3 separate regions of the Homo sapiens genome follow, and all the other regions are linked to region 3. The links are contacts of gene promoters, found by promoter capture Hi-C in blood cells and fetal thymus (Javierre and others, 2016). All regions are on one chromosome and are shown on one strand. Each heading gives the region's core, a stretch centred on a gene start or on the middle of the fragment in contact. The rest is flanking DNA. Distances are from core to core; before and after follow the strand shown.

Evidence for each region. Contacts are between HindIII fragments. The CHiCAGO score rates a contact against its expected background, and 5 or more counts as called.
Region 1: a contact is called between a fragment that was not itself captured here and the fragment with the promoter of SP9 in region 3, in 9 of 17 cell types (naive B cells, naive CD4 T cells, naive CD8 T cells and 6 more). The highest score is 15.4, in naive B cells.
Region 2: a fragment that was not itself captured here is called in contact with the fragment with the promoter of SP9 in region 3 in 2 of 17 cell types (neutrophils and naive B cells); the score reaches 6.9 in neutrophils.

The regions. Positions count from the first base shown.
Region 1 is chr2:173,023,050-173,025,749 of GRCh38, forward strand. The region is part of intron 23 of RAPGEF4 (Rap guanine nucleotide exchange factor 4); the gene reads left to right. Among named protein-coding and RNA genes, the nearest start is that of MAP3K20, 51 kb to the right of the region's middle. The HindIII fragment of the contact is 1,025 bases long and covers 914-1,938 here.
Region 2 is chr2:173,041,057-173,043,756 of GRCh38, forward strand. All of the region lies in intron 29 of RAPGEF4 (Rap guanine nucleotide exchange factor 4), which reads left to right. Among named protein-coding and RNA genes, the nearest start is that of MAP3K20, 33 kb to the right of the region's middle. The HindIII fragment of the contact is 8,888 bases long and covers 1-2,700 here.
Region 3 is chr2:174,333,605-174,336,306 of GRCh38, forward strand. It overlaps SP9 (Sp9 transcription factor), which reads left to right and starts at 1,350. Exons shown (of 2, transcript NM_001145250.2): 1 at 1,350-1,509; 2 at 2,503-2,702. The coding sequence starts at 1,489. LOC102724194 (a long non-coding RNA gene) reads right to left here and starts at 1,372. Exons shown (of 3, transcript XR_427194.5): 1 at 136-1,372; 2 at 1-21. The HindIII fragment of the contact is 13,141 bases long and covers 1-2,702 here.

The sequences.
Region 1 (2,700 bases), core at 176-2,675, 1.3 Mb before region 3:
CAGTGTAGTGAGGCACCCCCGCATGTGACCAGTGAGAATGCAGTGCAGCAAGGGCCATAGCAGAGCTAGACACAGAGGGTGTGGGCACACGAGGAAAGGAAGATGCTCCGGGTAGCTTACCTTCACCATCTCTTTGTCACTGACAATCCACACATCCCTTTTATGTCTTAGTCTCCTCATCTGGAAAATGGGAGGATAACAATGCTACTCTCCCAATTACCCCTCTCCAGCCTTAGCAAAGAAATCATGGCTCAAAAACCGTGGGGAGAAAATGCATGGGAGTTCTGTGTCTGTGGGTAAGCAGCTTTCAGATCTGTCTGTGCGATGCAGGCTCCACATAAGCTCTGCTGTGCCTTATCTGTAGGACATTTCCACAGGGCTATGTACAAGAAAATGGCCCAAGGAGGCGCTTCCTCTGGGGTCCAGGGTGAGCATTTATATTCCCCACTTCTAAGGGAGAAGCACCTTTTGCTGCTCACATTGCCTCTTCCGTGGCTCATGGAAGGGGTCAACCTGCCCTACGCCGGGAGAGAGACTTGGTGAGCCCTGCCCACTGAAAGAAAAGTTGAGACTCAACAGAGCTTTCCGTTACTCTCAAAAGGGTTGCAGGAGTGATAGACCAGCATCCACGACTAAAAGAACTTTGCATATTTCTTAATATTAGACTCTTCCCTGTGTTGTTAGGTAAACTTGTCCCCCTTATGTAAAGTTATAAAGCCTCAAGGAAAAGAAGGAGCAAGGTGTACTGGGTATCTCCAATCCTGAGGAGAGAGCAAACAGCAGGAATAACGTAGGAGGGGCAGCTCCGCAGAGCAGCAGAAGGGCTGTGTTCACAGCAGCTGCAAGAGGGAAGGAAGAACGTGCAAGGCCAGTTTGATCCTCTGAGAGGCAGTCGTAAACCCTAAAATGTATAAGCTTCCCCAACTTTTTTTACCTAGGACCTACCCTGGTTGAAATCATTCTCCTCATTTGTTTCCATATGCTACTTGCCCATCAGCTTCGGTTCAGTTCCCTAAGATTTAAAACTTTGGAATCACTTTTCTTCCCTGTCCTCTGTCCCCTGTGTAGAGTAAATTGGGAGCAACAGTATTTCGCTCCTACATCCAGGTGTTGTACTGATCACACTTTTCTGTGTATTTGCATTGCTACAGCACTTCTTTTTTTTATTATTTTTTTTTTTTTTTTTGAGACGGAGTCTCGCTCTGTCGCCCAGGCTGGAGTGCAGTGGCGGGATCTCGGCTCACTGCAAGCTCCGCCTCCCGGGTTCACGCCATTCTCCTGCCTCAGCCTCCCAAGTAGCTGGGACTACAGGCGCCCGCCACTACGCCCGGCTAATTTTTTGTATTTTTAGTAGAGACGGGGTTTCACCGTTTTAGCCAGGATGGTCTCGATCTCCTGACCTCGTGATCCGCCCGCCTCGGCCTCCCAAAGTGCTGGGATTACAGGCGTGAGCCACCGCGCCCGGCCTGCTGCAGCACTTCTAGAAAGTGAACTGATTTGGGGGAGGGGACCTCTTTTGTGCCAGGCACTGTATTTACATGATTCACTGAAATCACTCCTATCCAGTTCTCTTAACAAGCCTAGGTATAGGTATCATGACCCCAATTTACCAGAGCTGGAAACAGACACTCAAGAGATTAGGGAATCAATCCAAGTCTACACAGTTAGAGTAGGGTTTATATTCAGAGTCACTTGCTCTCTAAAGCTGACACTAACCTGGTCTATTATCTAGTCTATTACAAAACACAAACTCCTAATCTGGTACACGAAGATGTGCTACTAACTGTTCACACTGTCCATGGGGACCCCCTGTGCTCTCTGCTCCTGCCAAGCAAGTTTCATGACAGCTTCCCCATCTTCATGCTCTTGTTGCCATCCTTCCACCCCAAGGGACCATCCTGGATGCTCAGGGAAAACCTTGCTATTCTCACCTGCCCAAGCTTGTCTGCTTCATCTTTTAAAGCCCAGCTTCTTCAAGATCCTGTTCAGACCACACATTCATTCCAAATACCCAATAACTTCCCAAAAATTCATTCATGTTCCCCTCCTGTTTATCTCTGTACCTGGGTGTCACATGTGTTGTTGCTTCTGTCCCTTTATACCTGCAAATAAGGACCAGCAGCAGATGCTGCCTCTGTGGAGTGCTGTATGGGCCAGACAGGGTTGATTCCCTTCAACTGTAACCTTGCTTGGTCCTCTCTTAGACTGTAAACTTCCAAATGCAAGCACCGTCTACCTGCAGAACATGTAATTTCTCTAGTGCCCAGAATGCAGTGGGAGTTTGTAGAATACAGTGATGATGATGAAAATGATGATGGAACTTGTATAATATTAGGACTTCTGACATGGATAGTATCTAAATATAGTTAGCATCATTTTGTTTTTATTTTTTATTTTATTTTATTTTTTTGGAGATGGAGTCTCATTCTGTCGCCCAGGCTGGGGTGCAGTGGCACGATCTCGGCTCACTGCAACCTCTGCCTCCTGGGTTTAAGCGATTCTCCTGCCTCAGCCTCCCGAGTAGCTGGCACTACAGGTACATGCCACTACGCCCAGCTAATTTTTGTATTTTCAGTAGAGACAGGGTTTCGCCATGTTGGCCAGGCTTGTCTTGAACTACTGACCTCAGGTGATCCACCCGCCTTGGCCTCCCAGAGTGCTGGGATTACAGGCGTGAGCCACTGTGCCAGCCACTTTTGT
Region 2 (2,700 bases), core at 197-2,696, 1.3 Mb before region 3:
GGAATGAGAAGCATAGGGCAAACTTTTATACTTCTGTAAACATTACAGAAGCTAATTCATTAAGGAAGAGAAATGTTTTGAATCCTTTTATTTTTGTATCACTAAGCATGTCATTACATAATTAGCAACAATATGTTTTCTATCACCAATAATATTATTATAAGATTCATGGAGAGAGCACTTCACTTGTTACCTCAATCTATGGAAAAAAAGAATCTCTAAGTAAAAATCTACGTGTTCAAGTCCACCCTATTCCCAGAGCTCTCCAACACAAAAGAAATCTATGGGAGTACTTTGAGAGTTTACATCTTTGTATAGATTTCCCAGGCCAGGCTAAATGCAGATTTCCAAACGGTATGCTTCAAAACAACATAATGTGTGGAGTGTCCAGGCAAAAGAATTTACTAAGAAATATAAACATCTAGAAAGTAACCCTGGGCCTTTAGATTACCTGCAGTTGGGAAGAGAAAACATAAACACATGAAATATTAAAAATCCACATAAGATATAAAAACTAGGTCACAATAGTAATAAAAGATGTCAGAAAGCAAAATGCAGGAAAGAAAACTTCATGCAGTTTTATCAATGGAAAATAAAACCACATTATATGCAGTGACATAATATCAGAAGATCTAGACTAGCCCTAAGCACCTGTCCAGCCTCATCTGACACTTTGTCTTCTCTGTATCCAGTCCAAGTTGGTGAGACTGACCTGCCTTCTTCTCCTTTTGGCCTCAGGGTTTTTTGTACTAGCTGTTACCTTTGCCTGAAATTGTCTTCCCCCAGTTGTCTGCTGTCTGGTTCCTCGTCAGTCAGGCCTCAGCTCACAGGTCCCCTCCTCCAAAATAGTCTTCCCTAACCACCCTTGTGGGAAGGGAAGAAGATCACACATCTTCCCTGATCTCCCCTCCTCCCTGTGGTGCTAACTGTGCCTGACCTCCGTGTAACACCGTTCTGCGACACCCAGCACTCTCCAACACAACCTTGCCTTGATAGGGGTTTCACAGCCTGGGATTATCTTCCTGCCTCTTCAATGTCTTCCCTACCAGAATGTAAGTGCCCTGGCCCAGGTATCTGTTTTGTTCACTGATATTTCTCCAGCACCATAAAAATATCTGACGCATTATTTCCCCAGCACCCATAAAAATGTCTGGCACATCGTAAGTATGCAAGAAGTACTTGTTGAATAAAATGTAATGTTTCAGTGTTGGGCTTAGTGCACGAAAGCATTTTTCAAATATTTTATGTAATAAATCCAAAAGTGTCTTCTATTTTATTAGAAAATTGGATGAATCAACTGGGCACAGTGGCTCACGCCTGTAATCCCAGCACTTTGGGAGACTGAGGCGGGTGGATCATGGGGTCAGGAGTTCAAGACCAGCCTGGTAAAACCCCATCTCTACTAAAAATACAAAAATTAGCCAGGCATGGTGGCGGGCGCCTGTAATCCCAGCTATTCAGGAGGCTGAGGCAGGAGAATTGCTTGAACCCAGGTGGCAGAGGTTGCAGTGAGCCGAGATCGTGCCACTGCACTCCAACCTGGGCAATAGAGTAAGACTCCAAATCAAAAAAAAAAAGGGAAAGAAAATTGGATTAACCAAAATGTCCCAAAGCATTTTGCATAACTGAGACATTATAAAAGATGACTTTCCCTTAGCCTCTGTTCCTAACCAGACATTATTCTGTCCCCCCTCCTCCCTGTGGTGCTGTGTCTGTCCTCCAGTGTCCCTCCCTGAGTACATAGAGGTATACATGCTCTACACGTGCCTGGAAAGGCACCTGAACTGTCTTCTCCCATGGTCATCATATATACCACATACCGTAAGCATCATGCATGTGTTACACATGCGTATCTGCATGTCATACACCTCTTGGATACTAAAGATCTGTAGGGAGACCGGACTCAGGGCTCCTCCTCAATGATGCACACAGTGAAGGCTAGTTCAGCTTCAATTCCCTTTTATCTCTGGTCCTCACTGTGCCTGGCCATTTGGTTGCTATCACAGGCACAATCTTTGTTAGGTGAGACACTGTGTATTTCTGGATCTTGTGAAAAAAAAAATTCTTGTCCCAAATATGTGGAGGTCTGAGTGAAATAATCAAATGGTGTAAATGTGGTTTTACACATGCTAAGCAAGGAGTAATTAACAAAGGTCCTATATTTGATAGGCATAGGTCTGGAGACAGAATCAAATCGGTAGAGGCAGAAATGTAAGAAAAAGCAATCTGGCAAACATTAAGAGCAAGGATGGTACAGATCTTAAGGGGCAACAGAAGGAAGATCAAAACTGTTGAGGGCAGGCATTTAGAAGAGGCCTGACGGTGAGGAGCCGCTTCCTGAGGGATCTGAGCAGAGGCAGAATAATAGGCTAAGAGGAAGGCTATTGTGGCCGCTGTCTGGGAGCGGGAGGTCCTAGAGTGGTACCAATGAGGTGGCGTGGCCTGGAGGGCCTGCCGGTCAGAACTTGAAGAATGAAGTCTTCTCTTCCGCAGTGGGAGAGCAAAGGGGGAACTTGGACTAGGGCACAAGAGTCAGTGCAAGCTGGCTAGGAAGGTGGGGGCAGCCACAAAGTCCTGGTAGGCTATGTCATGTCTTTATAGGAGTGAAAGTGGAACTTGGCTGGCCTGCTCCTGAGGGGAGGACACCACAGAAGGGTGACGCCTGCCAAGAGCCAGGCCGCAAAGGCCCAGTCTGAGAAC
Region 3 (2,702 bases), core at 100-2,599:
GGACTTCAGGATGCTTCCAGCCTGCAAAATGTGGAAGCGCCCACGTGTGGCCTGGTCCTCCGCCCTCCCGGGTGAAAGTCCTGGAGAGATTTCTCGGGCGCGTCCGTGAAAGCAGGGCACTAATGGGGAGCCTACCTCTTAAAACAGCGCACTTGCCCTACGGACGAGCCTCTAGGCCCTGGTGGTCTGGAATGGGAGTGGGTTGGAGCTGGGACAAGAAAACTCCACTCCAGGATGAAACGCGACATGCAAATCTTCACCGGGTTAAACAAACAGCCGAGCAAGCTGCAGCTTCAGCGGAGGTGGAGGTGGGGGCGGACGCCGCTCGCGCCGGTCTCTGTTTCCAAAGTTGTTACAGTGAGAAAATAAGCGGCTTCGTGCAGCGTGTTGTATGGGCTGATGCCTCCCACCCCCATGCCAGCCCACAGCAAAACCCGGCAGATAATCAGCACATCCCACTGTTTAGTCATATTTGACAACTGGGTTAACCTGGTATCTAAGCGCTGGCGAAACCGTACAAAGGGTGCCCTCAATTACCACCAGAAGCCTCTAGCGTGAGTGGCACTTGTATTACCCCCCGGGTCAGAGGCCAGAGCGACAATTAGGAAGTCACTTACACCGCTGGGGGGAAATGGCGGGATGCAGCAGGCTCCAGGCCCTCCCAACAAATCTGTGGATGTAGATCTGTACAGAGAGGCCTATTTCGCTCCTCTCGGAGGAGCTGTCCCTTCGCGCCCCCTCCCCAGTATAACTGTGAGAGTGAAATTGAATCTAGTGGAATAAGGAATTGGGTAGAAGACACACGAAAATGATAAAAATCACAAGCAAGAATGATAGATACAAGCTGAAGTTGTGTTCTGTAGGCAAAAGCCTGGACACACAAAGTGAGGGCTCACATTTCCGTCTCCACTTGGGCCCTGCTGGTGCGGGCTGTGTCTGGGTGTCTCCTCCCCTCCTGCCTCCTTTCCTACAAGTGGGGAGTCGAGTAGGACTGTCAGCCCTAACTTGCAACATCTCGGGGTGGTTTGTGTGTGGGGGGGTGCTTGTGGCTCGGTTTCATTGGTACTTAAACCTGGCTTGGTGCGTGAGTGTAAATTTTTAATTGCACTGTAATTTCTTCAGTCCCCAGCCCGCCCTCGCCCCCCCCCCGCAAGTATCCCCCACTACTCCCCCCCACCCCCGCGGCCCTAGCTAGCTGACTTGACTGGCACGCGCCGGGAGCCCGGGCTCGGGCCCCTCGGAGCGTCTGATTGGCTGCGGGGCAGCTCCGGTCTGCTCTGCCTGCGCCCTCATTGGGCGAGAGGCGCAGCCAGCGGCACTTCAAAGCGGGTGCTCCTCGCACTTAGGCTGAGTTTAGCCGGCGGGAGCCTGGAGTCCGCTCGGCACGAGCGCGGGGACGCGGGAGCCGCGCGGGACCCAAGCAGTTTTTCCGAGCAGCCGCCAGGCTCAGCCCCGCTCCCAGCCTCGCTGCGCAGCCAGAGACCTGCTATGGCCACGTCTATACTCGGGGTAAGTCGCAAGCGCGGCAACGCATTTGCTTGTTTTAACCGGAGTAATTTTTCGTTATGGCTTCTGGGGTCTGCGGCTCCGGAGAAACTGTTGCTGCTAGACTGCAGCTTCAGCTTCTATTAGCACTTTCCACATTTCTGGGACTGATTTTTCCCCAAGTTTTTGGAACCCAGAAAGATGCCTTTGCAAGAAAAGGCCTTCTTAATCAAGTCCTTTTTCATTTGGTTTCAAAAAAAAGCTAGAGGTTTCTTTTCTTCCCCTCGTGATTTATACCCCATCCCCCGCATTGCTTTGGGGATTTTGTTGCAATTATGCGACAATGGTGTTTCCAGAAAACAGTCTTAATCGTTTTGCAGTCCATCTAGTCACGCTAATAAACATTTACATTTCCGCGGCTCCCCAATTCGCCCATGACTTTGAAATCTGTCTCTGGCCGCTTATCCTCGGATTATTGTTTTCATAATCGCTGTTTTTGTGTGTATGTAAACTTTAAAACCAAACGTTTTCTATTAAAAAAGAAAAGTCAAGTCGTAGCCACCCTGGGAGAGCTGCAAGTTTCGCCCGTCCCTGGCAGCTGTTTCGGCCGCCTCCGCCCTCACCCGGTGTTTGTTGTCTCTGGTCTCTGTGTTTACCTTCGCGCTTCACCCCGAAGGGCGACTTGGGGTCTTCTGGGAGATGAGCCGGTTTACGGCGACAACCCAAGTCCGGTTGTAGGCAGGGTTGCAGCGGGGAACACGGAGGCATCTTTGATTTATAGCCTCAGCGAAGTGCAACTTTCCGGCGCCTGGACCTTCGCCCGGGTGATCGCCCCTGCTCCGCGCCCGGTGCGGCGACTCCTCCGCGGGCGCGTGGGGAGGAGGCGCGAGGCGGGGAGCCAGGACCCCCCGGGAGCAGCCGCAGGGGACGAGGCTGCTCACGGGTGCACTTTGTTTCTTCCCCCACTTCCTCTTGCCCTCCTCCTTCTTGCTCCCTCCCCCATCCCACCCACTCTAGGAAGAGCCGCGCTTCGGAACGACCCCGTTGGCCATGCTGGCGGCGACCTGCAACAAGATCGGCAACACGAGCCCGCTGACGACGCTGCCAGAGTCGAGCGCCTTCGCCAAAGGCGGCTTTCACCCCTGGAAGCGCTCCTCGTCCAGCTGCAACCTCGGCTCCAGCCTCTCGGGCTTCGCGGTGGCCACCGGGGGCCGTGG